Regions from separate parts of the Homo sapiens genome. Here all the other regions are linked to region 3. The links are contacts of gene promoters, found by promoter capture Hi-C in blood cells and fetal thymus (Javierre and others, 2016). All regions are on one chromosome and are shown on one strand. The core of a region is centred on a gene start or on the middle of the fragment in contact, and the rest is flanking DNA. Distances in the headings are between cores, read along the strand shown.

Evidence for each region. Contacts are between HindIII fragments. The CHiCAGO score rates a contact against its expected background, and 5 or more counts as called.
Region 1: a contact is called between a fragment that was not itself captured here and the fragment with the promoter of PHLPP1 in region 3, in 3 of 17 cell types (total B cells, naive CD4 T cells and activated CD4 T cells). The highest score is 11.2, in total B cells.
Region 2: a fragment that was not itself captured here is called in contact with the fragment with the promoter of PHLPP1 in region 3 in 3 of 17 cell types (total B cells, fetal thymus and naive CD4 T cells); the score reaches 7.5 in total B cells.
Region 4: a fragment that was not itself captured here is called in contact with the fragment with the promoter of PHLPP1 in region 3 in 1 of 17 cell types (fetal thymus); the score reaches 6.3 in fetal thymus.
Region 5: a contact is called between a fragment that was not itself captured here and the fragment with the promoter of PHLPP1 in region 3, in 1 of 17 cell types (naive CD4 T cells). The highest score is 5.1, in naive CD4 T cells.

Annotation. Positions count from the first base shown.
Region 1 is chr18:63,444,312-63,447,071 of GRCh38, forward strand. No RefSeq gene overlaps it. Among named protein-coding and RNA genes, the nearest start is that of VPS4B, 23 kb to the left of the region's middle. RefSeq lists a silencer at 430-539. The HindIII fragment of the contact is 2,224 bases long and covers 206-2,429 here.
Region 2 is chr18:63,335,390-63,338,205 of GRCh38, forward strand. All of the region lies in intron 8 of KDSR (3-ketodihydrosphingosine reductase), which reads right to left. Among named protein-coding and RNA genes, the nearest start is that of BCL2, 17 kb to the left of the region's middle. The HindIII fragment of the contact is 6,476 bases long and covers 1-2,816 here.
Region 3 is chr18:62,714,117-62,716,869 of GRCh38, forward strand. PHLPP1 (PH domain and leucine rich repeat protein phosphatase 1) reads left to right here and starts at 1,425. Exons shown (of 17, transcript NM_194449.4): 1 at 1,425-2,753. The coding sequence starts at 1,568. RefSeq lists enhancers at 629-688, 779-888, 1,846-2,753 and silencers at 1,159-1,448, 1,799-2,028, 2,239-2,378, 2,689-2,753. The HindIII fragment of the contact is 14,296 bases long and covers 1-2,753 here.
Region 4 is chr18:62,183,337-62,186,036 of GRCh38, forward strand. The region is part of intron 1 of PIGN (phosphatidylinositol glycan anchor biosynthesis class N); the gene reads right to left. Among named protein-coding and RNA genes, the nearest start is that of PIGN, 2.4 kb to the right of the region's middle. The HindIII fragment of the contact is 723 bases long and covers 971-1,693 here.
Region 5 is chr18:63,406,993-63,409,773 of GRCh38, forward strand. It overlaps VPS4B (vacuolar protein sorting 4 homolog B), which reads right to left. Exons shown (of 11, transcript NM_004869.4): 4 at 440-507. Among named protein-coding and RNA genes, the nearest start is that of VPS4B, 14 kb to the right of the region's middle. The HindIII fragment of the contact is 950 bases long and covers 982-1,931 here.

The DNA of each region.
Region 1 (2,760 bases), core at 68-2,567, 730 kb after region 3:
GAAATTCTCCTGCCTCAGCCTCCCGAGTAGCTGGGATTACAGGCGCCTGCCACCATGCCCAACTGATTTTTGTATTTTTAGTAGAGATGGGGTTTCACCATGTTGGCTAGGCTGATCTCGAACTCCTGACCTCAAGTTATCCACCTGCCTCGGCTGAGATTATAGGTGTGAGCCACCTCATTCAGCCTGAAACATAGTTCTAAAAAGCTTATTTTTCATTCCTTTTTTTTCCTGTTTATTCAATTTAACAAGTGTTGTGGTTGGAAATATAGATTGCTTATTTCTTGAGTACTTACTTTTAAACCTGAGTGAATGCCTAGACATTTGAAAACTCAATAAATTAAAAGCACGTGGTAGCTTATAGAAATATTACAACACACACACACACCCAGTATGTCTGAGTGAGTCAAACGGAGTGTCTTTGCAAAATGTGCTGTCTGAATGAGACAGCGATTATGTCACTCATTGGCAATAAACACTTGTGGAGCCATCACTGAGGCTGACAGGAAGTTAAAAAAAGAGTCTCTGGGGAAACAGCTTGTTCTGCTTCTGATTCCATGAGATGTAACTATGTCTCTCGAAATGCGTACATATATATTTTATTACTTATTACCACATAAAACTTCATCCCTAAGGTAGGGTGCCCATCGTGATGATGGATTTGAGTACTAGCATTCATTCTTCAAAGGCACAGTTCAGCAACCCCATTCCTGGGGTGAATATGCGCCTGAAATGGGAGCTATTTTCTTTAATGGCCAAAACCCCCCACAGAACAACCAAAAACCACACCCAAAAATTCTTCCCCATTCTTCCTCAAAGTGTGAATTCATTCTCTTGAGCCAAGATTCACAGAAGACAAGGTGCTGGGCATCATGTAGCAGAAAAGCCCTCATTCCTAGAAGCTGGAACCCATGATCCTCTTGTTGGGGCCTGTTAGGGTGATTCTCTGTTGGAACAAACCCCACTCGGAGCTGGGCCCAGTCCCTGGGCAGAGAGCCTGCCCAGTCACATTTGTATCCTAAAGCCAAATATCTTGTCTTATGAGGAAATTAACCAGTTCTCCTAGACGTTTTATGGGAGCAGCAGAGAGGGTGGGTTTGACTGAGGAGAGAGAGAAAGAAAGGCCCAGAGAGAGGAGCCAAGCCTCATTGGCTTAGAGTTATTGGGAAAAACGTGAGTTTACATAAAGGAAAATTCTAAATTATGGAGTATCTCAAAAGAAATATAATTTAATATTTGAAAGTATGTAATAAACACAAATACCTATGGTTATTAGTCAACTAAATGAAAAGGTATAATTTTTCTTTTTTCTTTCTTTTTTTTTTTTTTCTTTTTTCTTTCTTTCTTTTTTTTGAGACAGAATCTCCCTCTGTGGCCCAGGCTGGAGTGCAGTGGCATGATCTCGGCTCACTGCAATCTTTGCCTCCCGGGTTCAAGTGATTCTCTTGCCTCAGTCTCCTGAGTAGCTGGGATTAAAAGTGTGCATCACTACACCCAGCTAATTTTTATATCTTTAGTAGAGACAGGGTTTTGCCATGTTGGCCAGGCTGGTCTTGAACTCCTGACCTCAGGTGATCCACCCGCCTTGGCCTCCCAAAGTCCTGGGATTACAGACGTGAGCCATGGTGCCCGGCCTAGACACACTCTTGTACTGCCATTACCCCTCCAGGGTTGTCATGACCTGTAACCCCAGGGGGGACTTTTTGATAGAGACGTGCTGTCTCCCTGGGCCTCCTCCAGCATTTGAGGCTCCAGTGATCCGCCCACCTGGGCCTCCCAAAGTGCTAGGATTACAGGCATGAGCCACTGCACCTGGCCTACAAAAGTATAATTTTTCTTAGTCCTACATTGTATATTAATATATCATAAACATTAAAAAGTGATTTTGAGCTTTTAAACAAATACAATTCAGTGCTATGTATACATAAGAATAAATTTTAAATTCGTGAAGTTAAAATCAAGGAAGATCTTTGGCTTGTTATTATTAATTGTTGCTTAATCATTGCAATAATAACTGCTCTAAGGTTTCTGAAAGGGCATCTGAGAGGTGACACTCTTTGCAATGGAACAATTTGAATTCAGTGACCCGTGGGACTTACTTCATTGGTAACAGACTTGGACAATACTAATTGGTCTGGAGATGGACATGTGACCAGAGTTTGGCCAATCAGCATGCTGCCTTGAGGTCTGCCTGCCTGGAGCTGGCCGGATAGAGCTTTGTGCTCTCTGGCCATGGGGTAGGTGTTGATGAAGCTGTAGGTCTCCTGTTGCCTGGGGAAAGTCCACCTGCAGCGGTAGACTGAGGCCAACATGCAGAGAGAAGCAGAGATGAAAGGAAGTGAGATAATGTCCTGCCTGGGCTAAATCCCTGGTCTTTGCCTACCCTACTTGTTTAAATGGACATATACTGTCTCCTTTCACTGTGGGCAAGCTTATGTTTCTGTTACTTGCAAGCAAAAGGATCTACCTGATCCATTACTCATTAGTATTATTTCCTTGAATTTGCAAGGAAACTGAACACTAAGGCACTGGTGTGAAGTTTGTTGTCATGTTGTACGTCGCATCTGTAGCTTCATGGGTACTCCTTTAGGTGTTTCTATGTGTTTACTTATGATTAAGGCACTGCTGATGGGAATGGTATATACTGTTTGATATATTGTTAAACAAAGTTGCACAATTGAAGGCTTGCTTTACATAGCTGGAAAGTATATCCCGTTGTTTGTGTGTGTGCCCAGTTCCTGGATTAGATTGTGAGCTCCC
Region 2 (2,816 bases), core at 1-2,500, 620 kb after region 3:
AATCCTAGTAATGTGGACAGAAATCAGTCGGACACATCAGAAACAGTGGAGTGTGCTCGTTCACTTTAAGTGAGATAAAATGGTCACAAAGCATTGATCAGCACTCAGAAATGGACGCACGGCCTTGGCAGATGGCAGTTCTCAACAAGTGAGTCCACGGACCCCTGCGGGCCCCCAAGGACAAATGATTGTCCTAATAACACTAAGACATTCATTGTCTTTTCCACAGTGTGTTGTATGGAAAATACAGTTTTGCCTCTGCAAAACTGCAGAGACATGGGCAAGAACCACGGGGTTCTTGCCAAACTGTACTAGGAGTCATTGTCACCTCTACTACCACACGCACTCGCAGTAATAAATAATACACAAAGAAAATACAAGTTCTAAAATTCTTTTAAAAATCAAAGTGTCAGTTTTGCTTTAAAATCCTCTTGATAAAGCAGGAAAATTCATCATTTTGTTCAATGGCAACCCTCGAGGACATGTCTTCTTAATACTCTGTGTGACAAATGAGAATGCGCCCAACGCGCTTCCGCAGCACTGCATTCCAGGGCGGGACAACTGCCTGGAACAAAAGTCCTTGTGCAGCTCCTGAAGTCAAGGGCTAAACTGCCACTTCTTTCATGGAGCATCATTTGTATTGTTTATTTATTTATTTTCGACAGAATCTCACTCTGTGGCCCAGGCTGGAATGCAGTGGTGTGATCTCTGCTCACTGCAACCTCTGCCTCCCAGGTTCAAGTGATTCTCCTGCCTCAGACTCCCAAGTAGCTGGGATTACAGGCATGCACCACCACACCCGGGTAATTTTTGTATTTTTAGTAGAGATGGGGTTTCACCATGTTGGCCAGGCTGGTCTCAAACCCCTGAGCTCAAGCAATCCAGCCGCCTCGGCCTCCAAAAGTGCTGGGATTACAGGCATGAGCCACCGTGCCTGGCTGGAGAGCATAATTTTTATATGAAAGACCATTGACAGGAAATCTATAGTAATTCAGACTTAGGTATGTGGCAGATGTGCAGAAAGCGAAGCAAGCAAGTGTGTCACTTCAGGAAAAACAACTGGCCACGTGTCATCAATGTGAAATCTGAGCCTTCAAGAAAAAATTAAGATTTGGAAAAACTAGTATCCACCATCACGAGACTGTCAGCTGCATACTTTTATGATAAGATCAGCAGTAATACTGATGAAAGCGATTTTTCTGATCACTCAGTCAACCCATATTTTCCAAATGACTAATGCATAATGTTACGAAATCATGAATGGTTAAAAGATCCATTCAAAGTACAAGACGGACCAATGGAATTTAATGTAACAGAGAACAAAACATTCATTGATGTAGTTTCCAATTCTATACTGCAACTAACCTTTAAGAAACTACCATTTGTTGAGTTTGGGTTTGATATCAAAAAAGAATGTCCATAATTATCTGAAAAGCCTAGTAAAATAGTCTTCCCTTTCCCAACTCCGTATCTGTCTCAGGCCAGATTTTCTGTATATCCTTCCATCAAAACAACATTATTACAACAGATGGAATGCAGAAGCAGCTATTTGAATCCAGCTGTTAATGCAGACCTTAAAGCAACTGGTGAAAATGTGAACCAATGCCACCGTCCTCACTGAACTTTTGTTTTGAAAAGTAGTAAATTTTGTTTAAAAAAAGTCACTTTATATATATGTGACTTTATATATATATATATGTGACTTTATATATATATATATGTGAATATATATATATATATATATATATGGAGTTTTGCTCTTGTTGCCCAGGCTGGAGCACAATGGCTCAATCTCAGCTCACTGCAGTCTCCACCTCCTGGGTTCAAGCGATTCTCCTGTCTCAGCCTCCCAAGTAGCTGGGATTACAGGCGCATGTCACCACACCCGACTAATTTTTGTATTTTTAGTAGAGACGGGGTTTCATCATATTGGTCAGGCTGGTATTGAACTCCTGACTTCAGGTGATCCGCCCGCCTTGGCCTCCCAAAGTGTTGGGATTACAGGCACGAGTCACTGTGCCCAGCCATTTTTGTTATTTTTAATGAATCAATAAATATTACAAACAGCTTCCATTTCAAATATGGCAAATATCAATAAATATAGCCATGTAAATAAACAAAAGTTCTCTGGGGTTGTTGACAATTTGTAAGAATGTAAAGTGGTCAAGAGAAGAAAAGTTTGAAAACCACTAAACTAAATGAATACTGCCAAAATACTAAGAGCTATTTAGCATCATTAGAAACACTGAATGGGCTGGGCACGGAGCTCACGCCTGTAATCCCAGCACTTTGGCCAAGAGGCTGAGGCGTGCGGATTACCCGAAATCAGGAGTTCGAGACCAGCCTGGCCAACATGGTGAAGCCCCATTTCTACTACAAATACAAAAAATTAGCCAGGTGTGGTTGTGAGCACCTGTAATCCCAGCTACTCAGAAGGCCGAGGCAGGAGAATCACTTAAACCCAGGAGGCAGAGGTTGCAGTGAGCCAAGATCGTGCCACTGCACTCCAGCCTGGGCAACAAGAGCAAAACTCCGTCTCAAAACAAACAAACAAACAAAACAACAACAACAACAAAAAACACCAAATGCATTTGCTTTGACCCGAGATAAGCAGGAAAAATAAAGTCTCACTTGTGCCATCTTCCTGAGCCTTTTAATGCACTCAGGACAAAGTTCTTCACACATGTATATATTTCAACAGAATTCACTATTCTCATTCTGCTCAGTTCAGTCTAATGTGACAGCATTTAGGCCACTTCAAGGCTGTCCACCATGTGCTGACACCTCTCATTCCAATGGTCCTATAGATTTTCCAA
Region 3 (2,753 bases), core at 175-2,674:
GGGCCCGAGAGGCGGAGGTTGCAGTGAGCCCAGATCGCGCTACCGCACTCCAGCCTGGACGACAGACCCACTCTGTGGCCAAAAAAAAAAAAAAAAAAAAGAAAAAAAGAAAAAAGAAAGAAAAAAAGAAAAGAAAAATCCCGAATTACAAAGCAATTGGGGGAATGGTAATTCAATTAAAAAGGTGTACAACATTCTTTTAAATAGTAAACTGCCCAATGATTACAACATTGATTCAACTGACGAAAAATACAACTTTTCAGACCACGACTAAACATTGTGGCAGTAGAAACTATTTTTTTTTTCCCTGAATGATGAAAGAAAAAAACCAGAGAAGACGTTAAGACAGAACACGTGGAAAAAGCCCATCTCATACTCCATTCTAATGTTTCTTCTACTTACCAGTGCTTTCTGTGTCATTAAACTACTTCAGACTTCAAGAGCAATGGGAAACAATGAAACCTCAGTCCTTTGCTATTTTCCTTTTCAGGTACAGGAGAGGGAGAGGACAGACTTAGGGTTGTGCCTTCGAACAAGCACATTCAACGACAGCCTCAGTTAGAATTCCCAGACGCTGCCTGTCTTCCTGGGTCTTGAAAAAGTGGGGAAAAAGTGAGGTTGGCCCACTCAGACTGCCAGTGATGCTGTGGTGTGACGGGTGTGTATCTCTATCTCATACAATGGGCGCAGGTGAGGACCAGGACCTGCGACCTTCGTACGTTTACAGTCCCTGAAAGCCCTCACCTTTAATTAGTAGGGAAAATAAAAGTCATCTGGCAAGCTGGAGTGCGGGTAAAATACAAGTTAATGAACATGAGCATTCGTGTTCATTAAGAACTCTGGCACAGAGTTCAACGGCAGAGGGCACAATACTCACTGGCCACGGCCAGCTGCTGGCGGCCAGGAGAAGCAGAACCAAAGGACCGCTGGGACTTGTAGTCCACCATGTTTCCCTCGGGATTGCCGATCCCCTTACGAGAACCACAACTCCCAAGGTTTACCGCGCGCGTCGGTCTTCACTGCCCTCTCCGAGGCCGGCTCAGGAACCTCCCGGGAAACTGCCCCCCACCCCGCCCTCGTACGCACGCGTCACGTTTGTTTACCCTGAAGCTCCGCCTCCGGCCATCCCCTGGCTCTCCCCACTCCTCCCTGGAATGCCGTCATGCCGGCGATGAATATTTATGAGGCACACGCGGCCCTCCCGCCCTGCCAGCCTCCCGCCTTCCCGCTCCCGGCGCATGATTAATATTCAATGAGCCCAGATCCGCGGCTGGTTCGCCGGGTTGAGGCGGGGGTAGCGGGCGGGGCCGGCGCTGGGGAGCCCGCGACCCGGGCGGGGAGGGCGTGTGTCGGGGGGGCGGTGGCGGCGAGGCGGGCGCGCGGGATGGAACACTGAGACACCGACGGAATGCTCCGAATCGCCACATAATCCCCTGGAACGGCCGCGCACAACGCCATTGGCTTCTCCCTTCTCCGCGCGCCGCCGCCGTCTCCCACCTCCGCCTCATCGCCTCCCTCTCCGCCCGCTGCCTCCGGAGCTGGGGGGGAAACGCGAAGCCCCACTGCAATGGAGCCCGCCGCCGCGGCCACGGTACAGCGACTCCCCGAGCTCGGCAGGGAGGACCGAGCTTCGGCTCCGGCGGCCGCCGCTGCGGCAGCAGCAGCAGCAGCGGCGGCCGCGGCGGCTCTGGCGGCGGCGGCCGGGGGCGGCCGGAGTCCGGAGCCCGCGCTGACCCCGGCGGCCCCGAGCGGCGGGAACGGCAGCGGCAGCGGGGCGCGGGAAGAGGCCCCAGGCGAGGCGCCGCCGGGGCCGCTGCCGGGCAGAGCGGGGGGTGCCGGGCGCAGGAGGCGGCGCGGGGCGCCCCAGCCCATTGCCGGCGGGGCTGCCCCCGTACCCGGGGCCGGCGGCGGCGCCAACTCCCTCCTGCTGAGGAGAGGGCGGCTGAAGAGGAATCTGTCCGCGGCCGCCGCGGCCGCCTCCTCGTCGTCGTCGTCCTCGGCCGCTGCTGCCTCGCACTCCCCCGGCGCTGCCGGCCTCCCCGCCTCCTGCTCGGCCTCGGCGTCGCTGTGCACCCGGAGCCTGGACAGGAAGACGCTGCTTCTGAAGCACCGGCAGACGCTGCAGCTGCAGCCGTCGGACCGGGACTGGGTGAGGCACCAGCTCCAGCGCGGCTGCGTGCACGTCTTCGACCGCCACATGGCCTCGACCTACCTGCGCCCGGTGCTCTGCACACTGGACACCACGGCCGGCGAGGTGGCCGCCCGCCTGCTGCAGCTGGGCCACAAAGGCGGCGGCGTGGTGAAGGTGCTGGGCCAGGGGCCCGGAGCCGCCGCCGCCCGGGAGCCCGCTGAACCGCCCCCCGAGGCCGGCCCCCGGCTGGCGCCCCCGGAGCCGCGGGACTCGGAGGTACCGCCCGCGAGGAGCGCGCCGGGTGCCTTCGGGGGGCCTCCGCGCGCGCCCCCCGCCGACCTACCCCTGCCCGTCGGCGGCCCGGGCGGGTGGTCGCGCCGCGCCAGCCCAGCGCCCTCGGACTCCAGCCCCGGCGAGCCGTTCGTTGGGGGCCCTGTCTCTTCGCCCCGCGCCCCACGGCCTGTGGTCTCCGACACCGAGAGCTTCAGTCTGAGTCCCAGCGCCGAGAGCGTGTCTGACCGGTTGGACCCCTACAGCAGCGGCGGCGGCTCCTCGTCGTCGTCGGAAGAGCTCGAGGCCGACGCAGCCTCGGCCCCGACGGGGGTCCCGGGCCAGCCCCGCC
Region 4 (2,700 bases), core at 82-2,581, 530 kb before region 3:
TAGACTAGCCTCTGCCTTCTTTTCTAAACCTGTCTCATAGCACTCCCCTTTACTTTGTAACATCTCACATCACTGGCCCCTTCTTTTATTCAAGTATCCCACTGCTATAAGACCTTTGTAGGCTCAATTCCTCTCTGCAGAATGTACTTGCAACCTATCTTCCACTCTCTCCTAACATTCCATTTCAAGCATCACTTCCTCAGGGACTATGCAGGTGAAGTCAGAAACGAAAACTTTTACTTCAGTTTGTAATTACATAGCTTTGTCTACGACTATTTGAATTAATGTCTGTCTCTGTCACTTCACCACAATTCCATGACAGCAGGACGGGGCATCTCCAACACCCATCAGAGTCTTATGCACTTAGTAAGGACTCAAATGTTTGCTGAATAAATTATTTAGAATTATCATTTCAAGGGTAAATGCAATATGCACTACAGCCACTAGAGGATGCCCTGCTTCTGTTTTTGTTCCTCCAGAACAAGATGTGAAGACTGAAAATACTTTAAAAAAAAAAAAACTAAACCTTTTATGATAAAGTAATTTACTATTAATGTAAATAAAATTGCAGTTATTACAAAATATCAGCATTCACTAACTACTTATTTTAATTAGTTTAATTGCTTAATACTAAATATTACTTAATACTTCTCTTTAAAGAAAATCACAATTTATTCAGATTTATTGAAAAAGAAATACCTCCAAAACAAACACATAACTATTAAAATTTTAAAAAGATATATGCATGTACCAATACAAGTTATCTAGTTTATCTGTGGATGTTTACCACACACTGAAAAACAATAAAACATGAGGTATTACTAAAACCTCAAGTCAACCAAAACTTGCATTCAGAATATTACTTGTGGTTCTTTTAAGACTATTAAAACCTAAAATAATTTTTTAAATACTAAAATGATTGACGTGCTTTGAAAAAAGGCATCTTTTACATCTTCATTGCTAAGGCACAAGCTTTAATAACTATCATTAGTCAGATGAAACATTAGTTGTAAGGGCCTAGATTAATGAAAATCTTACTAAGTAGAAAGGAAATTTCCCAACACTATTAATAATACATTATTATAAGTAGTGATCGGTAATTTTTAATATTCCAGTGTGTGTTACTTATACATTATTCACGAATAACCAAACCTCTGTGTATTGTGGAAAAGAAAAGTACATACTGGGAAGACTGGGCAGTTGATTTCTAATGGGCTTACAAGATCAAACACACAAGTTCATGGTTATAGGATAGGAGGCAGAAATAGAAGCAGAAAACCACAGATTTGTATGGGAAGAATTCCTCTACATGCAAGTTCTTACAACTCTGAGGAAACATTTTAAATCTATTTTCAACTTGTGTTTTAGAACTGAGACCCCAAATTAAAGATACTCCCTTCAGCCCTACTGACTTAATTGCTTTTTCAGGCTTGCACTGCCAAAACGATTGATATTAGTTTTATTTTTAAACACTTGTCAAATGTTCTCAACACATACTAATATTTCAATAATTAATAAGTGACCACAGTAATAGTTATTGTGTAGCAGGTACCAGGCACTGGGACAAGAACATTCTCAATTCTGTGTACTTTCCTTATCCCCTTTGATAGACGAATGCAAGTGAGGCTGAGAAGTTAGGTAACTTTTTCAAGGTCTCACAATAAATAATGAGTAGAATTGGGATCTGAACTTAAGCTTTTCTATCTTATAAGCATAATCCTCTTCAGGAATCCTAAATGCAGGAGATTTCTCAATTTCCCAATCATGGAGATGGAAATATTGTATATAAACAATCCATTTCTAATCATGCCCTTCCCATGCCATTCACTAATCCTCCATTCCTGGATTCCAGAAATTGGTTCCATTTTAATCTCTCTGGAAAATCCAACTAAAATACGGATCAGCAATCCCTTTTGCTAAGAAATCTCTAACAGGATACAGTATTTGCCATTTCAATTCTATTTGGGGGGATTTTTTTCCCCATGTTTTACTTTTAATATATGGCACAGAAAACTATTTATCATTAAAACATTGGGAACTAATGTCCTATAAAAAAATAGTTTAAATTCTTGGTACTTTTTTTTTAAACTTCTAGCAAAAATAAAATTTTAAAAACCCAAATCCCCATTCAAATGAAAATTTTAGTTTATTGAGCCTGGGTATATTGAAATTAAAGCCTACTCTTAACTGTTGGCATACTTTTACATGTAAACCAATAACCTGACCTAAGGTTATGTAAGAATCGTCTATTTTAATTTTTCCATGGAGCTAACGGGAGATACTTTACTGTGGAATGTTTACTACACACTGAATGTAATATGTCACTTACCTGTACACTAAGAAAGGAAATCTAAAGCCTGGAAAAGTGGTCATTTGTGTGTGAAAAAAATAGGAGCCATAAGAAATAGCAGTCTAATTGTATTGACTGGAAATTCCTTTACCTTTTCAGATCATAATCAAGGAATGACATAAAAGATAAACGTTGATCTTCTAAACTTAGGATATGTACTTTATATGCTAACATTTCATCAAAAAAATCAAAACTCTCTGAAGCATTCAACTTTTAAAATAGTTCTAAGTTCCAAAACCTTGATTCTAGCCTGCATGAACGAGTCAGAAATGTTGCAGGAGACAGTGGATAAAGAATCGTTTGGGACATAAGAGAAATGATGTTAATTCCTTTGACTCCTTATTAGCGGA
Region 5 (2,781 bases), core at 207-2,706, 690 kb after region 3:
GATGAAGAGCAGTTAAGAAACAAAATAAACCATCAATAAGTGAGCTACAGCAACGGCAATAAAAGCCACGTGTAAGTCCTAACTTCTCCCACAGTAGTAAATTTTAATACCATCAAATTTTGCAGTGTGCTAATAGTATAAGTGTTACCTTCTCTAAAAGGCGGCAAATAAACAAAAAGAAAGAGCAAGTTGACTGAGAGCCTTTTAAAGGCAGATGTGAAGCCAACAAAACTATTACATAAAAAAGACCAAACCATGATCCTAGAGGGCAAACCCTAAGAAAACACTCTAAACAAAGCCAGCACATGACTATTGGGAACCAAAGCCAGTTCTTAAACTTCATTTAAATATAGAGGGAGAACAAAAACAATTCAAATAGACAATTCACTTTGAGTCTTTTTAATAGGATAGTAAATTTAAAAATGAAATCTAAAGCAACCTTGAAGTTGATTCTGTAGTTTCTTTTTTTCAGGATCATCAGATTCTCCTTCCCCATCACTGTCATTCCTAATAAAAAGAATTTAATATATTCAAATGATCACTCATTGCTATCAAATAAGGCAAAAATGAAGGAAAAATTAACCTGAAATATTTGTAATTTCAGTGGCAAAATCAGACATTTACATTAAAAGTTATGCTTACTTATTTTAAAGAATGTAGTAAATAAGAAGCAGTCACGTTATCATCAATAGAGAATCATGTAAAAGAAAGGGACAAAAAGACCAGAATGAAGTCAGGAACTAGCTCCAAATTCCCATGACATATTTAGGTATGTATTAATTCATAAATGCATGCCCCACACATCACTCCATGAAGGATTCAAGATGAATCACAGGAGAGCTGCAAACAACAACAGTAAAAACATCAGGACTGGGCAAGATATAAATTAGAACAAGAGGTCATATTAGGAGGAAAAAAATCTGGAACACTAAGGTACAAAGGTCTACAACCCTTAGTCTGGGGATTCCAAAGGACAGAGGAAGCTTCCTGATGACAATGAACTACACCCAAAGAACAAGTAGGTCGATCAAGGCATTTCATTCATATCTAGGGATTTATCTTGAGGAAATAATTTTAGACAAGTTCAAGCATTTGACCATAAGGATAATCACACCCACACTGTTTGCAAAAGGGGAAAAAGTAACTCATATTATAGGGACTAGCATATGACAGGATACATTGCAACATTTAAACGTGATGTAGAAATAGTTTATTGGAAAGATATTCCTGATACAATGTTAAGTATAAAAGTGATAAAGCCAAAAATAAGGCATTATATCATTTTTAAAACAATAACATATAAAGGGAGATAAAAGCATGACATGTTTTATGCCAAAATGGAATTGCCTTGGTTATCATAGGACGGTGGGGCTGTGGGTGAGGTAGACACTGCAAAAGATTCACATGACACTCACTCCAACCTCTTTCTATCATGCTGTCCAGTACTATAAAGGCTGTCCTTATTAAAAACAAACAAACAAAAAAAACCCTGCCGTTTCTCATCTCCCTTGTAGCTAGGGTTCCACATGAGACCTAAATTCTTCCAAGAAGGTGGGGGCTGCTCACAAGGAGACAGAATCTTCAGGCGAAGGCACTGGTTTTGCTGAGGGAGCTGCGCAGAGGATTTACTACCTGCTCCCAAGCACCATCAGTGCTTAGCAGAGGAGTTGGCAACAGTGGGATCCCTACTTGAACAACCCTGGTACTGTTGGCCATTTCTCCTGATTCCCTGGCCCCACTATTCTGTAAGGTAATACCCTATAATATATCCCTTTTTGCTTAAATTAGCCAAAGTGGGTCCTACTGTAAACGAAGATTGCTGTTCAGTACAAAAGAAAAACTGGCATCGCCTTGTCAGGTAATCATCTCAGAAGAGATCCTTACAGGGTTTTCAAGCAAGAGAGAAGAGCTTCTATGGACAAGGGAAGAGAAGCTTCTGCTGTCAAGGGAGTCTCAGTGACAGCTGGAGGTCCTGGGCAGTCAAGGTCAACTAAATTCTTCCCAATATTTTCACTTCATGTTTGGAGTCCCTGTTTTATACCAAATGTCCTCACTTTCATATAAGAAACCCTAAGTTGGAATTCAGTAATTTGTAAGATCAGACTATCATCTGATTTTTGTTAAGTCAGTGCTATCGATGAAGAAGATAACATGTTCTTAGGGTGTCACAGAAACTCCCTGGTTCCCCGATCACATCTTGAACAGAGAATATAAAACCTTGAGCTTAAGCTTATCATTTCCTTCAAACTCTGCCACATAGTTTGAAGCAGCCAAGTCAACACTGGTTCTTATATTCCTCATGTACTTCCAAATGGTCTGTGGTAGCAGCCACGAAGCCCCAAAGCACTGCCTAAAAGGCACTTCATTCCTTGTGACCACAGGGTATTGTCTAAATAACCTGCGCCACTGCATACCATGAACAATGAGAACCACATCCTCTAAAGCTGAGCAGAATCTCGCTGTTTTCAAACCCAAGCAGGCCAGATAACTCCATCCCAGAGTCTCATTTTCTTAAGGGTGTGTTACCTGGAACTACTGGCATCAATTAATAGGACAGCCAGAGAGGATGTGGTTAGAATATGTTCCCAGTGCTGAGCACAAACTTGGCACGCATATGTCATGTACTGAATAAACAAATTCTGCATCTAGAAGTGATACATCCCCCATCTAGGAAGACATGCCAAAAATCAGTTTCAACGTTTATAAGTTATGCTGTGTTGTTTTCTTTACAATGACAACATAAAGCAAATCTAACACAAATTCACATCAAAAAATTTTGCA